Linked DNA regions of Homo sapiens: all the other regions are linked to region 2. The links are contacts of gene promoters, found by promoter capture Hi-C in blood cells and fetal thymus (Javierre and others, 2016). All regions are on one chromosome and are shown on one strand. The core of a region is centred on a gene start or on the middle of the fragment in contact, and the rest is flanking DNA. Distances in the headings are between cores, read along the strand shown.

Region 1 (2,700 bases), core at 60-2,559, 1.2 Mb after region 2:
ATTAATAAAGAGTACTTTGGGCCAATGTATCCTGAAAGAAAAGGTTGAACAGTTCAATTCTACACATATTCAGACCTTGTTATATGCAGTGCAGAGATCAGAATCCAACTTGCTTAATTTTTATTCCAATAATTTTACACAATACACTCACCACTATTGAGGTAGCCATAAGTATAGTGACTGCAAGCACAGAATCTGGCATCAGACTGTTCACATTACAGCTTCATCAGTAATATGTGATCCTGGGCAAGCTACTTAATCTCTCTGTGCACCAGTTTCCTCCTAAAAGAATACATATCTCACACGATTTTTGTTACAACTGAATGAGACAATAGTGTAAAGTTATTAGAACAGTGTTTGATACATGCTACACACTCAAAATGTTATTATTCAAAATATTAAGACAACCCTGAGTGGAATATTTTGACCTTGAAAGTTTCATTAAAAATAAACATGAAAGTAGAATAAGCTGTAGACCCTCTGCGGAAGAATTCCACTAGTAGGAACATGATTAGTTAATACTGAATACGTGTCTCAGAGACTGCGCTCCCCAATTACTAAACCTCAGCAACTGGCTCACAATCCAAGTCCTTGGCCAGGCTGCCCAGGGTTTAGTTTTCCATATTCCTACTACTCATCTTTTCCCTTTGATAGCTGAGGACATTTAAAAACTGTTTTTTGTTGGTTTGTTTTTTTTAATTTAACAATTGAGCTGGGAGAATACCCAGTGTTCAACCTAAAGAACTGAGTTCTGTTCCAGCCCCACCACTAGGTGATTTACTCTTAGCTGATTCCAAATCAGAAACATAATCAGCAAGGACTGGGGAACCTCCCACAGTACTTTCTCTCGCTGCTGTTTTCTCCACCCACACAAGTCCACCACTTTTAAAAGCATTTCTTCCATCTCGCTGGCCACATCTTCGTGGATGACAGCGCTGCCACTGTGCTTCAGAATCCTCTATCTCTCCCAGATCTTTCCTGGTGTTTCTCTCAGGGTCAGTGGCATCTAATCTTTGTGACTCTACTCCTGGTTTGAGTCCTCGGTTAACAGCCTTGGGGAAACTGTAACATAAACTGCAACGCTGTTGGTGCCGTTTCTTCTTAGACAGGGTGGCAGCGATCGCCTCCCCCCGCAGCCGGCCTTCCACTGCGCCAGCAAGACCCCCTCCCACCAAAACGCCGAGGGCTCCCAGAGCGCAGGCGCCCCGGGCCCCGCCCCTTTCCGAAGACTCGGCTCCTATTGGCCCAGGGGCCGGGGTTGGAACGCCCTAGTGGCCGGAGAGGGGTGATCATGTGACTTGCGGGGGTGGGGCTGCGCCGGCCTCTTCCCAGCCAGCTTGAAAGGGTTTGCGTAGCCGGCCTTGTGGGCCCTTGAAGCGCTCTGTTAAAGCGCTCTGTGGGCGGCCTGGCCCCAACTCCTCTAGTCTAGGCGCACGAAGGGAGTTGCTCCTAGGTCTTGTCCGTGCCGGGTTCGCTTTTCTTTCCTTCCCGAAGCCTGGCCCTTAGATCTACTATCGCAGAGTCTGCGGCCGCCAGGAAGCCCAGATTCGAGTGTCCGGAGAGTAACCGGAAGTGCTGTCCCCAGGCCTAGGGGCGGCGCCGGCGGCTGCCAGGGTAAGCGCGGCCTGCGGGGCCCAGGGGTGGGATGGGTGCGCGGTGGGACCCAAGACCCACGGCCACAGTCGAGTGGGAGCAGCCCCTGTTCCTGGACACTGAGCATGGTCTGGTCTCCGCTGACGGCGGACGGAGGACTGAAAGATGGTCAATGAAAAGTTGAAAGAAGAGAACCTTAGTACGGTAGTTCCTAGAGATAGTAAACACTGCAAGGCACTTTTCAAAGCAATATAATCTTTCATATATATCGAGGAAAAAAAGGACCTTGAATGGATTTTTCGCTTCATCTTCAGTGCAGAAATTAGTTATGTTGCAGTTGAATCTATCTGCAGAAAAATCTGGTTTGTTTAATCTTCCTATAACCATTTCTTTTTGGAAAATGGAATTACAGATAACTTTATATTATATACACTTATCACATGCACTTTGGGGTTTGTAGTGGTAGACGAATGGGTCTTTGATCTTAGGAGTTGAGATAATACAAACAAAAACAATTAGCAGAAGGAGAAAAAACAAACGAAAAACGAGGCTTAGGGCTTTGTTATGAAGTTACAGTTAGTAATAGAAAGATTCTTGACATTTTGTCTAGAGCTGGTCGGAACTGATGGCTACCAGTGGCAGGTACTTCCTGCAGGAGAAACAGTGTAAGCAAAGATGGGAAGAGGTAAGCTATGGTTGAAGGATGCTCACTAGAATGGAGAGGAAATGGGACCAGTTTTCTAGGCCAGCTCTAGAAAAATTATGAATTATAAATTTCACAAGGTCATCGTCTACATTATTGATTTTTCCTCTAGGAGAGGCAAGAATTGAGTGTTGTGAATAGTTCTGAACTAGAGACCTTTTGAAACCAAAAGGAAGATGGTCTTGAGTCTTTCTTGTTACGGTAAGTGGTATACCAGGCTCTGTTTCTGTATAAATGTGGATGGGGGTGTGGGGTGGGGCAGGGTGAAAGACAGGAAAGTATGGGAGAAGATATATGGAAAAAGAGAATGCCCCTTTCTTAGCTCCTAAGATAGCAGAGTGATAAAACTGAGCCCTATCCTACCAACTTAAGGCTATTTTCTACTCCTTTTCAACATGCATGCA
Region 2 (2,700 bases), core at 16-2,515:
CCGGTAAGTCAATGTCACCCAGGATCCGTACAACTGCAGTAAGAGGGACGGTTAATTCACAGCTTCCAGCTCTTGGCGCCAGAGTCCGATGCACTCCTGCAGATAACGGTCATTTCCATTCCGGGAGAACCTCTTCGAAAAACAACCCGGATGAGACTATCTGGCAAATTGCAGCCCTTGGCGGGCTTTTCAAATAGAGCGTTGACCAATCAAAGAAGGGGGACGTTACAGGCACTGAAAGAATAACCCGGCCGCGCGCGATGGCTCACGCCTGATATCCCAACATTTTGGGAGGCCGAGATGGGTGGATCACGAAGTCAGGAGTTCGAGACTAGCCTGGTCAAGACGGTAAAACTCCGTCTCTACTAAAAATGCAATAATTAGTCGGGCACGGTGGCGGGCGCCTGTAATCCCAGCTACTTAGGAGGCCGAAGCAGAATTGGTTGAACCCGGGAGACGGAGCTTACAGTGAGCCGAGATCGCGGCACTGCACTCTATCCTGGGCGACAGAGCCAAGACTCCATTTAAAAAAAAAAAAAAAAAACAACACAAAAGGAAAGAGTAACCGAAAACCGAAAGCAAACTTGTAATTATAGCTTAAAGCACAACTGCAAGCCTTTTTCCCCAAGGGTATCTAAGAACCCAAGCTAAATTTGTCTGATGGAGCGTCTATACTCACACGCAAAAAGCCTAGGGAGCTTAGCTTACCTTTTCCCGCCGTCTTCCCTCCTAATGGAGGCCGGCCGGAGTCCACCCAAAAGACTACAAGCAAAATGCACAGGCTCTTTCTCTGGAAGCGTGAGTGGCTCTGAAAAGAGCCTTTGGATTGCTGGCAGCTGCGAGAGCTCACTTGGAGCTGGTGTACTTGGTGACGGCCTTTGTGCCCTCGGACACGGCGTGCTTGGCCAGCTCCCCGGGCAGCAGCAGGCGCACGGCCGTCTGGATCTCCCTGGAGGTGATGGTCGAGCGCTTGTTGTAATGCGCCAGGCGGGAAGCCTCGCCAGCGATGCGCTCAAAGATGTCATTGACGAAGGAGTTCATGATGCCCATGGCCTTCGATGAGATGCCGGTGTCGGGGTGGACTTGCTTCAGCACCTTGTACACGTAGATAGAGTAACTCTCTTTGCGGCTGCGCTTGCGCTTCTTGCCGTCCTTTTTCTGGGCCTTGGTTACGGCTTTCTTGGAGCCCTTTTTGGGGGCAGGAGCAGATTTAGCCGGGTCGGGCATGGCGGAGGAGAGTGAAAGAGCACTCAAATAACAAGAATGAGGACAAGCTGGGTTATGCCCTATTTATTTACAAGTCTATATGCAGATGAGATTGAGAAATTCTTCTGTCTGATTGGAAGTTACTCAGATGACGTTAATATCAATATAGTCCAATCAAAACACGTATATTCAGAAAGCTCATTTGCATTAAGAGGAAGCTGCAAGCTTAGCCAATGGCCCAGCTTCTTTTTCGCGCCCAGCAGCTGCTATAAAATGCGCGTCCCTGTAGGTTCCTTTCACTCACTTTCTGACTTAGGCCACAGGTCGTTTTACCATGTCTGGACGTGGCAAGCAGGGCGGCAAGGCTCGCGCCAAGGCCAAAACCCGCTCCTCTAGAGCTGGGCTCCAATTTCCTGTAGGACGAGTGCACCGCCTGCTCCGCAAGGGCAACTACGCTGAGCGGGTCGGGGCCGGCGCGCCGGTTTACCTGGCGGCGGTGCTGGAGTACCTAACTGCCGAGATCCTGGAGCTGGCGGGCAACGCAGCCCGCGACAACAAAAAGACCCGCATCATCCCGCGCCACTTGCAGCTGGCCATCCGCAACGACGAGGAGCTCAACAAGCTGCTTGGTAAAGTTACCATCGCTCAGGGCGGTGTTCTGCCTAACATCCAGGCCGTACTGCTCCCCAAGAAGACTGAGAGCCACCACAAAGCTAAGGGCAAGTAAGGGCTGAACTTTAAAAATGTAAACTTACAAGACAAAAGGCTCTTTTCAGAGCCACCCACCATTTCTACGGAAGAACTGAGCACTCTGTTCTCCAAACCTATCAGAAATTTGTGGCCGAGTTCAAGCACTGAGGCCATTACTTTCCTATTGGGTAAAATAAAAGTATTGAATCAGGCCTAGTAAATACTATCCAACTGCTACCTTATAACATGAAGGAACCTCCTTAATTGTCCCCTCCCCACAAACTGTCCTGGGTCTTTAAAAAACTTGGGGCCGGGCGCGGTGGTTTATGCGTCCTTAGCATTTTGGGAAACTGAGGCAGGTGGGTGGGGAGGGGAGAAATCTCTAGGGACCTGGAGTTCGAGACCACCCTGATAACGAGACCCCTGCCTCTTAAAAAAAAAATGACTGGGCGCGGTGGCTCACGCCTGTAATCCCAGCACTTTGGGAGGCCGAGGAGGGTGTATCACAAGGTCAAGAGATCGAGACCACCCAGGCAAACATGGTGAAACCCTGTCCCTACTAAAAACACAAAAATTAGCCGGGCGTGGTGGCGAGCGCTACTAAGGAGACAGGCAGGAGAATCGCTTGAACCCAGGAGGCAGAGGTTGCAGTGAGCCGAGATCACGCCACTGCACTCCAGCCTGGGCGACAGAGCGAGACTCCATCTAAAAAAAAGAAAGAAAAAAAATACCAGGCGCGAGGCCCTCGCCTGTATTTGGCGGACTGACAGCAGAAGGAACACTTGAGTCCCAGGAATTTGAGAT
Region 3 (2,700 bases), core at 125-2,624, 1.4 Mb after region 2:
GTCGACAGCACCCCTGGGAGCAGTAACTATAAAGTGTGCTTCTGCTTCATGAAGGAAACCCTGAGGAACCTGCCCTGAGCACCCTCTGTCCACCCTGTGCCCTTGAGGGGATTTTCCTCGATTTCCCAATCTAGTGCTGTGCCTGAGTGTACTGTAAACTTGAGCCGTGCAATAGGACACATATCCACTAGCTAGTTCCAACTGAAATGAGCTGTAAGTGTAAAATACACACAGGATTATGAAGATTTAAAATTTCAAAATGTTGACTATCTCATTGGTAATATGGTATATTAACTAAGTATTTAAATATTCGTATTTGATTATTTGGGGCGAAACAAAATATAGTATACAAATTTATTTCATGTTTCTTTTTACTTTTTAAAATAAAAAGTAAAATTTAATTTTTTTTGAAAATTTGCAATTGTACATGCACTCGGCCTTTGTGCCTCACTGTATTCCTTTTGGACAGTGCTGGTATAAATTCAATGAACATGTTCAGAATGAAAGGGTAAGTCAACAACTCCACAGTCCTTCTTTCTTTCCCTTTGCAGACTACAGGGTTGATGTTCCTTTCTGATAGGTGACAGCAGCAAGTGGCACACATCCCTACCTGAGACCAGTGCACACAGGCTGAGGAGGAGGAGGAGGAGGGAGGCTGGCCGGGAGAAGTGCAGGGCAGCAGCTGATTCCATGAGCACCCAGAGCAGGCAGGGACAGGAGGCCTAGGGTTACAGAGGAGAATCAGCCTAGGAGTCTTGGCACCTCAGTGCTGGTCGGGCCCAACCTCTCCCGTCACTCAAGTAGGTCTCATCAGTGCCCCAACTTCAGGGAGTCCCCTGCATCCGAAGGCTCAGGTATGTCCCGAGAGAGGGATTCCTTAAACATTCCATGAAGTAAGCCATCAATGCCAAGATCAAGGGGGCCTTTTTCCGCCCTCCTCGGCTCACTTCTCTGGCCAGAATGCAGTTTCTTCAGTTGTCGCTGGATTCTACCACACCCTCCTCCCTTCACTTCCTCCTCCCCGCGACCCAGGCCGGGCAGCCTGAGGCAAAGACAGGCGAGGCCGCGCCTCCCCACCGGTGGGCTTTCCCTGTCCCAGGACCCCGTCTCGTGTCCACAGCAGACCCCGCTTCCCCCACCTACTGTGCCCACCCCGGAGCTGTAGCGCCTCCCCTCCGTTTCCTACCTTCTAGAATTAAACGTTGCTTTTTCTTTTCTCCGCTGGTTCTCGACGATTCTCCAGTCGTCCCTCTTCTCTCCAATCTGCCCAGGGGCACAGGCACTACTAGACACAAACCTTCCCAAAAGAGGAGAAAAAATTGTTCTTCCCCTTCTCCTAGGTCGCCATGTTTGGAGATGCAGGAAACGAAATCTGGTCTCCTGGGCTTCCACAGTCCCAAGAGTTCCCTAAGTATTTTAGAGCCCAGGATTGGCCGGGTGTGAGTGAACCAGCCAATGGTGTCGAACCTTATTTCTCAGCAGTTGCTGGGTAGAATACACCGAATCACAAATTTCAAGCAGCAAATAACCTTTTGAGATTATCGGGTCTTTTTATTTCCTTTTTCTTTGTTCGAAAGCAAGACTCTCTCTCTCTCTCTTTCTCTCTCAAGACTCTCTCTCTCTCTCTCGCTTTGAGATTCCTTGGGGAGATTCCCTGGGGTTTGTCACTGAGGTCGGTGGCTTTGCTGGTGTCCACAAGGAGAGGCCTCTCTATGTAGAGGGCAATTTTGCTGGGGAGGAAACATGAGCAGGAAAACGTAAGCCGCCCCCTTTCCAAAGCCAGAGGACTCCTGTTCAAGTTGCTGGCTTTGGAGGTTGGGCCTGGAGCGCAGGAGGGCTTGGGGGAAGCTGGCATGGCTGGAGCGGGAGGGGTAGCAAAGGAAAGGAGACAGCAGTTGCAGTGGCTGTTATGAAGGCCTTGCCATTCATTCCAAAGCTATCGGATAAGAGGTGCTGAGAATCCTGACTGAGGATCAAAAACCTTTTCCCTCAGGGAGGTGGCATTCTGGTGGTGGCAGAAGATGGAATTGAGCAAAACTTTCTAGTTGTCCTTCACCTTCTAGATAGTAGGTGGTCAGGTTGGGTCCAAGAGCCACACACAGACACACACACTAGCACACATACCATCCTCCCGTAAACATCATCCCTCTCCCAAAGGCTCCAATCTTGTAATTGTAAAGATATCTTCCAGAATAATCTTCCCGAGGCCCAGTTGTCAATATTCCCCTCAAGTGTCTAAATGCTTAGTCTGGAGGCCTCCAATTCCCTTCTGATTCAATTCAAAACTTTGCAGTTAATACGCTAGCAATGGCTCCACAGTGGCCTTGCATCACAACGTTGCACTCCCTGTGGCCAGTGCTCCTTTTCCCATGCCATGGCTTTCATTTCAATTGCTTGCTCCATCTCTGCCCCGTGAAATCCTGCCCAGCCTTCGTGCCTACTTCCTCCAAGAACAACTCTGAATGTTCCTGCCTGAAGTGTTCTCGGCCTCTTCTGACACCCAAATCTTTTGCTGTTCCCACGTCCTGTCTTGTATTATTGTTACTCAGGTATCCACTGTGTCTCTGCTGTGACAGGAGTACCTGCTTCTCAGGACAGACTTCTGCAGGATGTGATTCCTCTCACCTTACAGGGCCCAGCTCTAAGCTCTAAGCTCTGCTCTTAGCTGTTGTTCAATGCATGAGTGACATGCTCAGGGTA

Evidence for each region. Contacts are between HindIII fragments. The CHiCAGO score rates a contact against its expected background, and 5 or more counts as called.
Region 1: the fragment with the promoter of ZNF322 here is called in contact with the fragment with the promoter of H2BC17 in region 2 in 2 of 17 cell types (neutrophils and monocytes); the score reaches 8.0 in neutrophils.
Region 3: a contact is called between the fragment with the promoter of BTN2A1 here and the fragment with the promoter of H2BC17 in region 2, in 1 of 17 cell types (neutrophils). The highest score is 5.3, in neutrophils.

Annotation. Positions count from the first base shown.
Region 1 is chr6:26,658,355-26,661,054 of GRCh38, reverse strand. ZNF322 (zinc finger protein 322) reads left to right here and starts at 1,309. Exons shown (of 4, transcript NM_024639.5): 1 at 1,309-1,614; 2 at 2,409-2,497. RefSeq lists enhancers at 899-1,098, 1,119-1,178, 878-1,378, 1,409-1,598, 1,609-1,658 and 1 more. The HindIII fragment of the contact is 5,113 bases long and covers 1-2,700 here.
Region 2 is chr6:27,891,990-27,894,689 of GRCh38, reverse strand. It overlaps H2BC17 (H2B clustered histone 17), which reads right to left and starts at 1,265. Exons shown (of 1, transcript NM_003527.4): 1 at 799-1,265. The coding sequence starts at 1,227. The coding sequence ends at 847. H2AC17 (H2A clustered histone 17) reads left to right here and starts at 1,505. Exons shown (of 1, transcript NM_003514.2): 1 at 1,505-1,991. The coding sequence starts at 1,541. The coding sequence ends at 1,933. RefSeq lists enhancers at 502-641, 1,032-1,271, 1,292-1,835, 2,182-2,231, 1,836-2,379. The HindIII fragment of the contact is 3,889 bases long and covers 1-1,433 here.
Region 3 is chr6:26,456,629-26,459,328 of GRCh38, reverse strand. It overlaps BTN2A1 (butyrophilin subfamily 2 member A1), which reads right to left and starts at 1,374. Exons shown (of 8, transcript NM_007049.5): 1 at 1,187-1,374; 2 at 611-722. The coding sequence starts at 692. RefSeq lists enhancers at 1,184-1,343, 1,504-1,763. The HindIII fragment of the contact is 11,033 bases long and covers 1-2,700 here.